4 separate regions of the Homo sapiens genome follow, and all the other regions are linked to region 4. Evidence: promoter capture Hi-C in 16 types of primary human blood cells and fetal thymus (Javierre and others, 2016). All regions are on one chromosome and are shown on one strand. The core of a region is centred on a gene start or on the middle of the fragment in contact, and the rest is flanking DNA. Distances in the headings are between cores, read along the strand shown. Region 1 overlaps EVA1C (eva-1 homolog C). Region 2 has its middle 56 kb from the start of TCP10L. Region 3 overlaps EVA1C (eva-1 homolog C). Region 4 holds the start of EVA1C (eva-1 homolog C).

Region 1 (3,261 bases), core at 755-3,254, 85 kb before region 4:
ATTCAATTGCACTGCTTTTTTATAAAAGAACAAGTGAGGCATCTTCAGCAGCAAGAAAACCTTGTTTCCTCTCTCAGAGGGCTTAACTAAATTCTTCTGGGGATGTCCCAGGATCAACAACCACCGGACATTCCTAGATTGTGAGTTTTCCACGTACAGGAGGCCCTGGCGCCTTCATGCCCATCAGCAGCAAGGGAGACTTTCCAGGGAAGCCCGGTGAAGTTGCTGGATGTGGCTGATGATTTCCAGGGCCTTGAGGAATGTCCCTTGGCTGTCCTTGGGGCACACCACTGATCCTGGGACCCTGGCAGCTCCGGAGAGCTGAGCTCAGCTGCTGCAAATTGCTTTCTGCTTTAATTACCTCGCATTCATTTCTGGGCCCTGAGAAGGATGCAGAATCCTAGGAAGTGTCAGCTCTCCCTGCCAGGAGTGGTACTTCTTTCTCATGTCTGCCTCTTGGCTTGTTCTCAAACTATGGCTTCAGGAGGGCCTTGGCTCTTGGCAAATGCCAGAGGCTTTACAGTTTGAGAAAGAATCAGAATTTTGTAGAGGAGCTCAGAGGGGAAGGGCATTCTAGGATGCACTTTGCAGAATAACCAGGCAGTGAAAAGGTTAAATTGGCTGTGTATGACACAGGCCACTGCAGGGAATGTGCCCTTCTACTATGTGAAAATGGCTCTGATATCTGGAGAATCTTTTAGGACCTTTAAAATCACCGTTGTCAACACACTTGTCAGATTTTTGCATCTCCTTGATTCAAACTAGTTCCGAATGAGGTCGGGGACTGGGGTGTGATTGATCACCGTCCTGCTCCACTTCAGATATGTTGGTGAAAACACTAGGGACCACTCTTCATGGAGCTCCTACTGTGTGCAGGACCCTGTTCTCAGCAGTTTAAACCAGGGCCATCTTCCTCCTCATCAACACCTTTCCTCTCCCACTCAGCAACCTCAGCGTCTCGGCCCCTAGTGTGCAGCTAGTGTGCAGCTAGTGTGCATACCCTAGTGTTCACCCTACAGTATGGTTCTCTTTGGAAGAATTAAACCACCACCCCCAAGCTAAATTAGGCCCCCTCCACTGTTACAGTCTTCTGCCCTTTTCTAAAATAGCATTTGTCACAACAGGTCATGATGATGTGTCTGGCTATTTGGTTAATGCTTGCCTTTCTCCCTCAACTGCTCACCCCATGAAAACAGGACCATGTCTCTTTTTTTTTTTTTTTTTTGAGACAGAGTTTCACCCTTGTCACCCAAGCAGTGACGAGATCTCAGCTCACTGCCAACTCCGCCTCCCAGGTTCAAGTGATTCTCCTTGTCACAGCCTCCCAAGTAGCTGGGATTACAGGCATGCGCCATCATGCCCAGATAATTTTGTATTTTTAGTAGAGATGGGGTTTCACCATGTTTTCCAGGCTGGTCTCGAACTCTTGACCTCAGATGATGCGCCCGCCTCGGCCTCCCAAAGTGCTGGGATTACAGGCGTGAGCCACCGCACCTGGCCGTGTCTCTTTGTTTATTACAAAATCCCTGGCACCCAGCACAGCTCCTGACACAAAGAGCAATGTGCTGAATGAGTGACAGAAGGAAGAAAAGCTTGAACTGGGACATGTGACCCCCAGGCCCTGAAAGCTCACCTTCATCTCAGCATTAGTGATGTGGTTTGGCTCTGTGTCCCCACCCAAATCTCATAATTCCCACGTGTTGTGGGAGGGACCTGGTGGGAGGACCCTGTGGGAGATGATTGAATCTTAGGGGCGGGTCTTTCCCGGGCTGTTGTCTTGATAGTGAAAGGGACTCACGAGATCTGATGGTTTAAAAAATGAGAATTTCTCTGCACAACTCTCTTTTTGCCTGCCGCCATCCGCATAAGATGGGACTTGTTCCTCCTTGCCTTCCGCCATGACTGTGAGACCTCCTAGCCATGTGGAACTGTAAGTCCAATTAAACCCCCTTTTTTGTAAATTGCCTAGTCTCGGGTATGTCTTTATCAGCAGTGTGAAAATGGACTAATACAATTAGCTAAGAAGAGCCTCAGCTGTAGGAACTGTTCTTGCCTCATCCTTGAAAGCACACTAGAAACTGCACCTTTAAAAAAAATGTTTTAGTAAATGTTATTGTACAGAATAAAAAAATACATCATGATTCTGTAATGATTTTCTCTCCCACAAGAGCATGGGTGAAAATCAGTAATTTACTTATAAAAATATTTTAATTAGGACTCCAATAAGATAATATGTACCTTCATACCTTGTCTTCTGAATAACTAAATGGGGAGAAGTTCACCTGAAAAAAGTTTTCCCCAGGAAACCCATGGTTTCTTGGCTCAACGGACCCATTAAAAAAGTCCACCTATATCAACTTTCTGCCAATCTGGAGATTTGTTTTCTTTGATCTAATGTCATGTGTTCACAAGCTTCTAAAACATTTGCCAAAATTAAAGTCTGCTGGACGGTTTTTCCCTTAACCCATACTCTTCCATTCATTCCAAATACTATCTTCAGTGGATAGAGTTTTCCCACTTCCTGTTTGATTTCATGATCTGGAGCTAACAGCTTTCTAATGAAGCCCAGTCACTTTAAAAAGCAGACCATCCTGTCCAATGACATTCCTTCCATTGGCTCATCCATAGCTGTCAATACAGACCATCTCTGGTTCCATGTCTTTATTAGCAACCACAAATTGGCCATAGATGAGATCTCCAACCTGCACATTTGGTCTGTTTCTTTTAGTTGCACCTTCAAATGCCAAGTAAGACAAAGAAACTGGCTCACTCCCTCCAACATCAACTCTGAATATATCTCCAGATTTAGCTGTCACTATGCCAGTCACCTGGTCTCCTTTCACTAGAATATACTCCGTTCCCAGGGCTATGGCGGCCCCAGCCCAGCAGTGTCTCAGCTTTCCCGGTCCCCGGCCAAAACTACACCTTATTTGGAGGCTAAAGTTCTGCTTCTTATTCAACACTCTGATGAAGAGGCCTGAAGTTACTGGAACCTCAGTGTGACCCGTGTCCAGTCTACCGTCCTCCATTCTACCAGAGGAGCTATCCAAGGATGTACTCAAAGTGACCTTTTTGGCCTCTGGGGGAACCTCAGCCAAAATGGGCCCCATGCTACTTAGAGTTGCTTAGACATGACAGCAGGAATAAAGACAGAGCAGGTAAAGCCATCCCTCCTGTGATGTAAGAGTGGGTGCCATTATTTTGGTAATACATTTATGTAGTCACTTCATCATATCTATTGCAGCATTGATATTGCAGAGA
Region 2 (3,055 bases), core at 29-2,528, 120 kb before region 4:
CTTCATGTGAATATTCCTAGTGCCTGGCCTGGTCCCTGACAGAAAGCACTCCTTAAAAAGTAGCTGTTGTACTGAAGGAAACTGTTGTGGCAAAAATGCAAAAAGGAGTTGTATTAGTCCGTTTTCACACTGCTGATAAAGACATAGCCAAGACTGGGCAATTTACAAAAGAAAGAAGTTTATTAGACTTACAGTTCCACATGGCTGGGGAGGCCTCACAATCATGGCGGGAGGCAAGGAGGAGCAAGTCACATCTTACATGGATGGCGGCAGGCAAAGAGAGAGCTTGTGCCGAGAAACTTCCCCTTAAAAAGTGATCAGATCTCATGAGACTTATTCACTATCACGAGAACAGCACAGGAAAGACCAGCCCCCATGATTTAATTGCCTCCCACCGGGTCCCTCCCCCATCACATGGGAATTCAAGATGAGATTTGGGTGGGGACACAGCCAAACCGTAACAGGAGTGTGTTTGTGCATGTGTGTGTATCTGCATGTTCTGTGCATGTGTGTGTGTCTGCGTGCTCTGTGCATGTGTGTGTACCTATCTACATGTTCTGTGCATGCATGTGTCTGTATGTTCTGTGCATGGTGTGTGTGTGTCTATATGTGTATTGTATGTGCACCAGTGCCCACCTGCTCCTGGCTTTTTTGGTACCACCTCCAGGAATCTCTGCATCAACAGGTCTCCTGAGAGCTCACAGTTGGAAGCTGATGTGACTGGGCATAGTCAGTGTTCTTCAACTGATGCTGTGCCCTGGACCAGCTGAGAGCTGATGCAGAGGCTGCTCTGCAGGCCACCCTTCCTCTGGGGCAGCTTTGCGGGCCTCAGAGGTGGAGGTGCTCCAGGCACATCTACCCAAAAGCATCCTATTGGAGCCAGATTGCTGCATTCCAGGCCCCACCTAGTTGAGGTTATGTTAGCCGTCTGCCATCTTTACTGCTCTACTTCTTGTAGCCAGCTCTGGCTCATGGCAGCTGATGGTTAAACATTCAGGAATTTTTGCAAATTGGTTGTTAAACACAGTCACCATGAAATACTAAATTACAGAAGCTTACAATTAAATAGATTATATTAGGCACAAAGGCTGTCAATTCTCAAAACTCAACATTTCCTAATTATTTCACCTTATTTTACTATTGTCTTGAGGTCATTGACATTGATTGTACCTGTAGGGTAGAAACACTATATGAAGGACGTTGTGTTACACTCGCGTTGGCCAAGGAGGGAGTATTTACACCACAGAAATTGGCAGATGCTACAAATCAGCACTTCTCTGCCCACACCTGGGGTTGCTGGTTGTTACAGCTTTTCCAGCAACTCCTGGCCTCCACCCAGCATGGTGTCTGGCACAGAGCAGGGCTCAGCTCGTGCTTTGTACATACAGTTCCTTGAGTCATCCCAGTGTGAATGTGTCCCCTGCTTCTGGCTGGGGATCTGTGACTAGTCCATGCCTCGCCTTGTGCCACTTCCACTCTTGGGAGCAGCTCTGGAAGCTTCTGTGCTAGTTTCTGTGGCTGCCATAACTAATGACCACAAATGGTGTGGCTTAAAACAACAGAAATTTATTCTCTCCCAGTTCTGGGGGCCAGGGGTCTCAAATAAAGGTGTTGGCAGGGCTGTGCTCCCTCTGAAGACCAAGAAGGGGGTCCTGCCTTGCCTCTTCCGGCACCTGGTGGCCCCTGGCAATCCTTTGCACTTTTGGTTTGTGGCTGCGTCACTCCAGTCTCTGCCTCTCTAGTCACGTGGCATTCTTCTCTGTGTGTCTGTCTGTCTTCCCCCTTCTTAGAAAGCCGCCAGTCATTGGAGTTAGAGCCCATCAGTGCCACCTCATCTTAACTAATTATAACTGTGAAGACCCTGTCTCCAAATAAGGTCACATTCTGAGGTTCCAGGAAGACGTGTATTTGGGGGAGCAGTGTTCAACCTACTATGGAATCTCTGCCATAGAAACTGCAGGTGATGCTGTCCCTCTAAGGTCGTGAGGAAATTTCCAAGGGTTGCCTGACACCAGTCATGACCAATGAGCAAAAAGGCCCTCACTGAAAATGTTTGGCACTTTGCTTTTACAGTGACTTTGTGGACAGCAAGAGAGCGGCTCCACAATCATGTCCTCATGCCATGGGGTCATGGACCCTGGTGTCTCCCCCTCCGCTTTCCCCGACATGCACCCAAGTATGTTCTATTTGCAGTGCCTGCATCATTTTCTTTTTTAAATTTTTTAAGTTTTTTTTTTTTGAGACAGAGTCTCCGTCACCTAGGCTGGAGTGCAGTGGTGCAGTCTCGGCTCACTGCAACCTCCGCCTCCTGGGTTCAGCTTTTATTTATTTGTTTTTCTCTTTCTTCTTTTTTTATTTCAACAGTTTTTGGGGTACAGGTGGTTTTTTGTTACAAGGATAAGTTCTTCAGTGTTGATTTCTGAGATTTTAGTGAACCTGTCACCCAAGCAGTGTACACTCTACTCAATATGTAGCCTTTTATCCCTTACCCGCCTCCCAGCCTTTCCCCGCAAGTCCCCAAAGTCCATTATATCACCCATGCTTATGCATCCTCAGAGCTTAGCTCCCACTTTTTTTCTTTTTTTTTTGACAGGGTCTTGCTGTGTCACCCAGGCTGGAGTACAGTGGTGCAATTTCAGCTCACTGCAACCTCTGCCTCCTGGGCTCAAGGGATCCTCCCACCTCAGTCCCCAAAGTAGCTGGGATTACAGGCTTGTGCCACCATGCCTGGCTAATTTTTGTATTTTTTAGTAGAGACGGAGTGTCGCCATATTGGCCAGGCTGGTCTCGAACTCCTGACCTCAAGTGATCCGCCCGCCTTGGCCTCCCAAAGCACTGGGATTACAGATGTGAGCCACCACGCCCAGCCTAATTTTTAATTTTCGTGGATACGTGGGAGGTGTATATATTTATGGGGTACTCGAGATATTTTAATACAGGCCTACAATATGAAATACGCACATCATGGAGAATTTCCATCTCCTCAAGCATTTCTCCTTTGGGTTATAAACAATCCAATCACACTCTTTAAATTATTTTAAAATACACAGTTAAG
Region 3 (3,136 bases), core at 135-2,634, 100 kb before region 4:
TTCTTGGGAGCGAGGTGTCCAAACCACTGTTCATCCATATTTCCTGAATGATTTGCTCCCTGCGCTCAATCCTTTCTGCGAGCTCTGCAGCTTCTATGGAACTGTATATAGGATATGAAGTCCTACAGAACCCCGACAGTTCCCCTGGGAAATCAGACTCAGAGGGGTCCTCCTCCTCTTCTTCATCCTCGCTGTCCTCCTCGACCTTGTCACTTCCTGGCACCAGCTGCTCCCTCCCCAGCTGCAAGTCGCGGAAGTCCTTGGCACAGGACTCTCTGATGACCAGGGCGCACAGTGTGAGGGCCAGGCCGATGCAGACACTGGACACGAACAGCAGGGCAGCTCTCTCCGGGTGGGCTGCAGGAGGAAGAGAACATGTCAGGAGCTGGGAGGAGCTGGCAGACTCCACCAGTGCCAAGTCCCACAGAAACAGATGTCTGCCCAAGCAGGGGGCTAATGAAGAATGCCAGTCCAGCATCTTTGAGACTGTCTACACCAAAATAATCATATATCCCCACTGACATTTTTTTTCAAAAAAGCTTTTGCGCCTACGGAGTCAATATATGTATGTGTAGGAGAAAAACACACAGCAGAGGGGCTCAGGAGCCAGACTCCTCTGAGTTCAAACTCAGGTCTGCCACTCAGTAGCTGTGTGACTTTGGGCAAGTTTCATAACCTTTCTGTGCCTTAGTTTCCTCATCTGTAAAATGGGGCATATAGTATCTTCTATCACAGAGTCATTACAGTGAAATGAGTTAATTCCTATAAAGCTCTTAGAATATTCCCTGACACATAGTAAATGCTCAATAAAGTGCTGCTATTATTAGTAGTAGAAGTAGCTCATGAAGAATTAACTTATGTACGAAGTATATATGTGAACCTAAGTAATAATATAATAGATGTTAGCAAAACTTAATTCTGTCCTTTTTCAGATTAAAAAGTAAATATAAATATACAGTCATCCCTTGGTACCCGTGGGGGACTGGTTCCAGGACCCCTCCCCCACACTCCCAGGCTACCAAAATTCACGGACGCTTGAGTCACTTATATGAAATGGCACAGAATTTGCATAAAACCTAAGCACATTCTCCCCTATTCTTTAAATCACTTCTAGATTACTTGTAATAGCTAATGCAATGGAAATGCTAGGTAAGTAGTTGTTACCATGTATTGTTTTGGGAATAATGACAGGAGAAAAAATGTCTGTACATGTTTGGTAAAGATGCAACTATCCATTTTAAAAAGATATTTTCAGTCTGAGGTTGGTTGAACCCATAGATGAGGAATCCATGGATACAGAAGGCCAACTGTAATATAAAATACAAAAATATGCTGGGTGTCGTGGCTCACGCTGGTAATCCCAACACTTCGGGAGGCCAAGGTGGGTGGATTGCTTGAGTTCAGGGGTTCAAGACCAGCTTGGGCAACATGGTGAAACCCCATGTCTATTTAAAAAAATACCAAAATATATCTGGGCATGGTGGTGCGTGCTTGTAGTCCTAGCTACTAGGGAAGCTGAGGTGGGAGGATCACTTGAGCCTGGGAGGTCAAGATCATATCACCATACTCCAACCTAGGTAATAGTGTGAGACCCTGCCTCAAAAAAAAAAAAAAAAAAAGAAAAGAAAAATATTAAAATAAATAATATAAATATGTATATTATTTATAAATATTAATAATATAATAAGTATTGGCCGGGCACGGTGGCTCACGCCTGTAATCCCAGCACTTTGGGAGGCCGAGGCAGGAGATAACGAGGTCAGGAGATCGAGACCATCCTGGCTAACATGGTGAAACCCCGTCTGTACCAAAAGTACAAAAAAAAAACTAGCCGGGTGTGGTGGCGGGCGCCTGTAGTCGCAGCTACTCAGGAGGCTGAGGCAGGAGGATGGCGTGAACCCGAGAGGTGGAGCTTGCAGTGAGCCGAGATCACGCCACTGCACTCCAGCCTGGGCAATAGAGTGAGACTCCATCTCAAAAAAATAAATAAATAAAATAAAATAATATAGTAAGTATTATAATACTACTATAATGATATTATATCATTGTAAGTATTATAATACTTACAATAATATAGTAACAACTATATTACAATAATAACAACTATATTATTGTAAGTATTATAATGCTTATTATATTATTGTAAGTATTATAATACTTACTATATTATTGTAAGTATTATACAGATGGAAGCCTGTATACTGTAAGTAATATGCAGATCAAAGCTTCATCTCTCCCGACTTCACTTTCATCTTCCTCCCCTTTGAATTTCCCTCCTTTCCTCCCCATCCTGCAGCCCTCCTCTCCCCCGAAATCTTTGAGCCACTGTCCTCTCCAAACCCTCTCCTTCTGTGATGCTGTTAGGGCTTTCAAGGTGGGCCACAACTCAACTTCTCTGTCTTGGAAAATATAAACTTTGAGCCCCACTGCCAGTGATGCTGCCGACCTCAAGGAGTGCTGAGTGTGAGGAAGCTGAATCCCATCCATTTATAGTCTTTTCCAGCCACCCATGGTCAGGCCAGGGACAGATCTGGACAGAAACAATTCCATCCAGCTCAAGCCTCTGAGGTACAATGGTCATCCGTGGCCCCCTCCCCTCCTCTCCCAGTGGTGGTGTCGTGGGAGGGGCCGGGTACCCAGGGCAGACAGAGTAGGGTCACAGCAGAGCAATCAATTCCAGCAGTCAATTCCAGCAGCGACTTGAGCTATAAGTGAAGGAAGTCGAATGGGGACGTTTCAGGTTCCAAGAAGGGAGTAGGGTGCCACAGCCGGTAACTATGGACTTGCTACTGTACCTCTTTTTTCATATTTTGAGGATTCCTGGTGGACTGAATTAAATTACCCATAATCCTTAGGACATGAGACATTCTCTTCATTGGTCAATACATAGCCCTACTTTATGTCTAACGAATTACTTTTTAATACTGTAATTAGCACCAGTGCTATGAATGCACACCCGTATAGGAGCGAGGCCTTGACCACACCTGTGTCTAACCTGTGCTTCCCCATCCCCTTGCCTCCCCCTCAAGGTGACTACCACCTGAATTCCAAGCTCCTTACTCCCCTGTTTCCTTTTTTATATAGTTTTATTTTCCGTCTCTATGTATTCCTAAAATTTTATTTAAAGGGTATAATA
Region 4 (3,283 bases), core at 100-2,599:
CCTTGTTCTTTGCTATGTACTAGCCTACTGCACAAACAGGACTGAGGAGGACTCCCTTTACCACCATTATGTTGCAAAAGACTCTGCACTGAGGACCCGATAGGGACCGACTGTGCAAAGCCTGAACTTGGCAGAAGATCCCTGGAGAAGGAGGAGTATGGGGCTCAGAGCTGCTCCCTAAGCTGGGCTGGGGAAGGCTGAAGGCCTCCAGCCTTGCCAGAGGGAGATCCAGGTGTGCTTCAGCGGCAAGGACATGTGTTACCTTAAGCAACTGCAGCGCTAACTTAAGCATGTGCTCCTATGGCTATCGTCAACCTAGAAATCCCTTTCACTTTGGGGCGTCACACCTGTAAGCTCAGAACTATCTGAGATCCGCTGCGAGAGCCTGGATCACGATTCCCAAAAAGAAAAGCCTCCTAGTTTATTCGAGAGTAGGAAGTCATTATTTTCTGTGAAGGAAACTGGAATTGGAGAGGGAGGACCCTGGTACACTTTGGCAGAGAGGCTCCTCTCTCTTATCTAAGTATCTCCTCATCCCTCACTGCCTTTCCACCAGACCTCCAGTCCCCGCGGGCTTCCCTTTCTACCTGCCAATGTGGACTCGAGGTCAAGTGTCCCCTGGGCTAGTCTCCTTACATGGGCAAACGGGCTACGCGGGTGACAAACGCGGCGCAACGCCTCCGACCACAACACGTGTATTTTACAGCGCTGGGCGCGGCACAGGGCTCAGTTTAAGGAGCCTCCATAGAACGAGCGTGGCTCAGGACCAGGTCCCTAATGCTAGGAAATTGACGAGGTCAACAGCAGGGCGAGAAACTCTGAATACATTACACACCCTTCCTTCTTGGGAGTGGCAGTCCCCCGTCGCCACTTCACTCGCAGCCATCTATATGCCAAGGGCTCACACCAGACAAGTGTCTGTGAGCACGCCTCAACTTTAATCCTACCCCGCCGTGTCCACTGGTGCGGCTGCCCCCAGTCGAGGGTTCACCTGGGCGCTCCGCGGTGCCGGGGGCACACAGCCAGGGAGGGCGCTCTTACCAGAGAAGTCGGTGAGCGCTGAGATCTCTTTGGAGCAGACCAGGACAGTGCAGTAGAAGAGGCGCAGGAGCTGCCCCGGCGGCTCTACCTGCCGGCGGAGGCCGGGATGCTGCACGGGCTGGGGCGTCGGCGGTTGGCGTGCGCGTCCCGGCAGAAGCATCGTGCGCTGCGCGGCGGGGCGGAGGCGCAGGCCCGGGACGCGCTGGGGGTCGCAGGGCTAAGGACGGCGTCACATGGCGGGGAGAATCGATGGCCAGCGGCTCCGCGGCCCCCCGCCGCCTCCCTGCCCAGGCTGCCAGAGCCTCCTCCCCTGCGCGGGCCAGCCCAGGCGCCCCAGCAAAGGGGAGGGGGCGGAGAACTGGGGCGGGGCGAGGATCCCCGAAAAGGATCCGCGTAGTTTCCCCGAGAGGAAATCTCCGTTGCCGCCGTGCCGGAGGAAGCGAGGGGGGCCGTAGGGAAAGCGCAGCCTTCGCGCGCCCCGCGGCTGCCCAGGCCGATCCCTGGCGCGCTGCCCACCGCGGAGGGCGCCCCCAGTAGCGCGCCCCGGGCCGCGCACCTTGAGCGCCTTCCACACCCGGGAAACAGCCGGGCACCCGTGGCCCTGCCCGCGCTGGCCGGGTGCCAGCCTCGCCCTGGCGGCAGAAGGAGCGCGGCCGGTGCCCGTGACGCACTTTGGAGCCAGCGCCGCGCGTGCAGCTGGGGCGCCCCCGGGGCGGGGCCGATCGGGGGCCGCAGGAAGGTGGGGTCCTGGAGGCGTGGGATCGCACCGCTGCCATCCCCGCCACCCGCCGCGCGCCACGTGCAGTCACCCGGCACATACAGTTATCGCCATTCCACAGAAGAGGAGACTGAGCCCCGGCGCCGTGCCCAAGCTCTCGCAGCCAGGACGGCGACGAGCTGGAGGTCTCAAAACCGGTCAGATGGCTCCGGAGCCGGGATCTTTAGCTCCAGCTCGGCTTCCTTTGGGTGCTGGTTGTCCGCAGCGCTGGGGGATCTGACACTGCACCGGCGCAAACAGCCGCCGAGCGCTAATAATTGGGCTTTGTTTTAAAGTGGGCCACAGCATCTTTCTGAACCTCTAGACTGTGCGCGGGGTGACCCACGTTCGGACGCCCAGCCAGTGGCCTAGGAGTGGCCTGCGTAGCCCCAACTCAAGGGTATCGAGGACAAGTGCGCGAGGGGCTCCGTGGCTGCTTGCCGGGTGCGGGTACCTGGCGCCCAGCGACCCAAACCCTATGGATCGCGCGGGGCCGGCGGAAGGGAGGAGGGCGGGCGCTAGGCACACAGTGTTCCCGAACCCGGCGGGAGGGCCTGCCAAGTTCGCGGCGGGCGTGACGCGGAAACGTAGATAATGAGGCCCAGGGCGGGGCCGGACGCACTGCCCCGCGGGCTCCAGAGCTGCGAACGCCCCAGAGTGTGCAGGGAGGCCTGCAGAAAGAAAATGCGGCTGAGGGTCCCCGTGGGACCCACTCAGAGGTGGGCCGTAAAGATCCCGGAAGGGTGGATGGCATTAGATACCACCTAGTACTCCAGCAAGGGCTGGGTCACCGAATTGGGATCTCGGCCTCTTCTTCCAGTCTGGGGAAAAGTGTGTTAAATGCTAAACATCAGTGTTTATCGAGTGAGGCCCAGCCTGTCTGGCATAATGATTTTTAAAATCTACATTCAAATATTAAATAAAAACTCAACCTCCCCAATAACATTTGAACATAAATATTAGTGTGCGCTCTCTAGGTTAGGGAAACTGAAGCTGGGAGTGTGGGTAAGGATGCCCAGCACTTAGGAGCCACAGGGTAAGTAATGTTTGTCCAAAACTCGGGTCCCTCCTGTACTTTCCATTCTGTCTGTTCATTCATCCAGTTTAGATATGAATTGGTACCAACGTGTGCCAGGTTCTGCGCTAGTGACTGACAGTGTTGGCACAGGGAGGCAGCCATGCTCCCGAGTCCTGGGAGTGGGCAGCACTGCCCTGTGGGTCTGCACTGGCTTCCAAATGTCTAAGTGGGCACTGTTACTCACTGTGACAGCATCCCCAGGCTTTCTTACCTGGTAAAGCAGAAACTCAAACATACTTACACACCAATATTCATTGCAGCATTATTTATGATGGCCAAAAGATGGAAGCAACTCCAGTGGATGAATGCATACAGTTACTATTACAGCAGGGAAGACAGACATTGGAAAATAATGCCCCGTGAACGGACAGTCACGAAAGACAGGAACCATGGGAGCAGAAGCGAGG

What was found. The method cuts DNA at HindIII sites, captures the fragments that hold promoters and counts their contacts. A CHiCAGO score of 5 or more calls a contact.
Region 1: a contact is called between a fragment that was not itself captured here and the fragment with the promoter of EVA1C in region 4, in 1 of 17 cell types (endothelial precursors). The highest score is 7.0, in endothelial precursors.
Region 2: a fragment that was not itself captured here is called in contact with the fragment with the promoter of EVA1C in region 4 in 1 of 17 cell types (megakaryocytes); the score reaches 5.0 in megakaryocytes.
Region 3: a contact is called between a fragment that was not itself captured here and the fragment with the promoter of EVA1C in region 4, in 2 of 17 cell types (megakaryocytes and endothelial precursors). The highest score is 9.0, in megakaryocytes.

Annotation. Positions count from the first base shown.
Region 1 is chr21:32,496,404-32,499,664 of GRCh38, reverse strand. The region is part of intron 5 of EVA1C (eva-1 homolog C); the gene reads right to left. It also overlaps the pseudogene EXOSC3P1. Among named protein-coding and RNA genes, the nearest start is that of EVA1C, 85 kb to the right of the region's middle. RefSeq lists a silencer at 1,615-1,783. The HindIII fragment of the contact is 820 bases long and covers 1,595-2,414 here.
Region 2 is chr21:32,528,223-32,531,277 of GRCh38, reverse strand. No RefSeq gene overlaps it. Among named protein-coding and RNA genes, the nearest start is that of TCP10L, 56 kb to the left of the region's middle. The HindIII fragment of the contact is 443 bases long and covers 1,057-1,499 here.
Region 3 is chr21:32,512,035-32,515,170 of GRCh38, reverse strand. It overlaps EVA1C (eva-1 homolog C), which reads right to left. Exons shown (of 8, transcript NM_058187.5): 8 at 1-357. Among named protein-coding and RNA genes, the nearest start is that of TCP10L, 72 kb to the left of the region's middle. The HindIII fragment of the contact is 1,686 bases long and covers 542-2,227 here.
Region 4 is chr21:32,410,772-32,414,054 of GRCh38, reverse strand. EVA1C (eva-1 homolog C) reads right to left here and starts at 1,349. Exons shown (of 8, transcript NM_058187.5): 1 at 1,042-1,349. The coding sequence starts at 1,201. The HindIII fragment of the contact is 8,620 bases long and covers 1-3,283 here.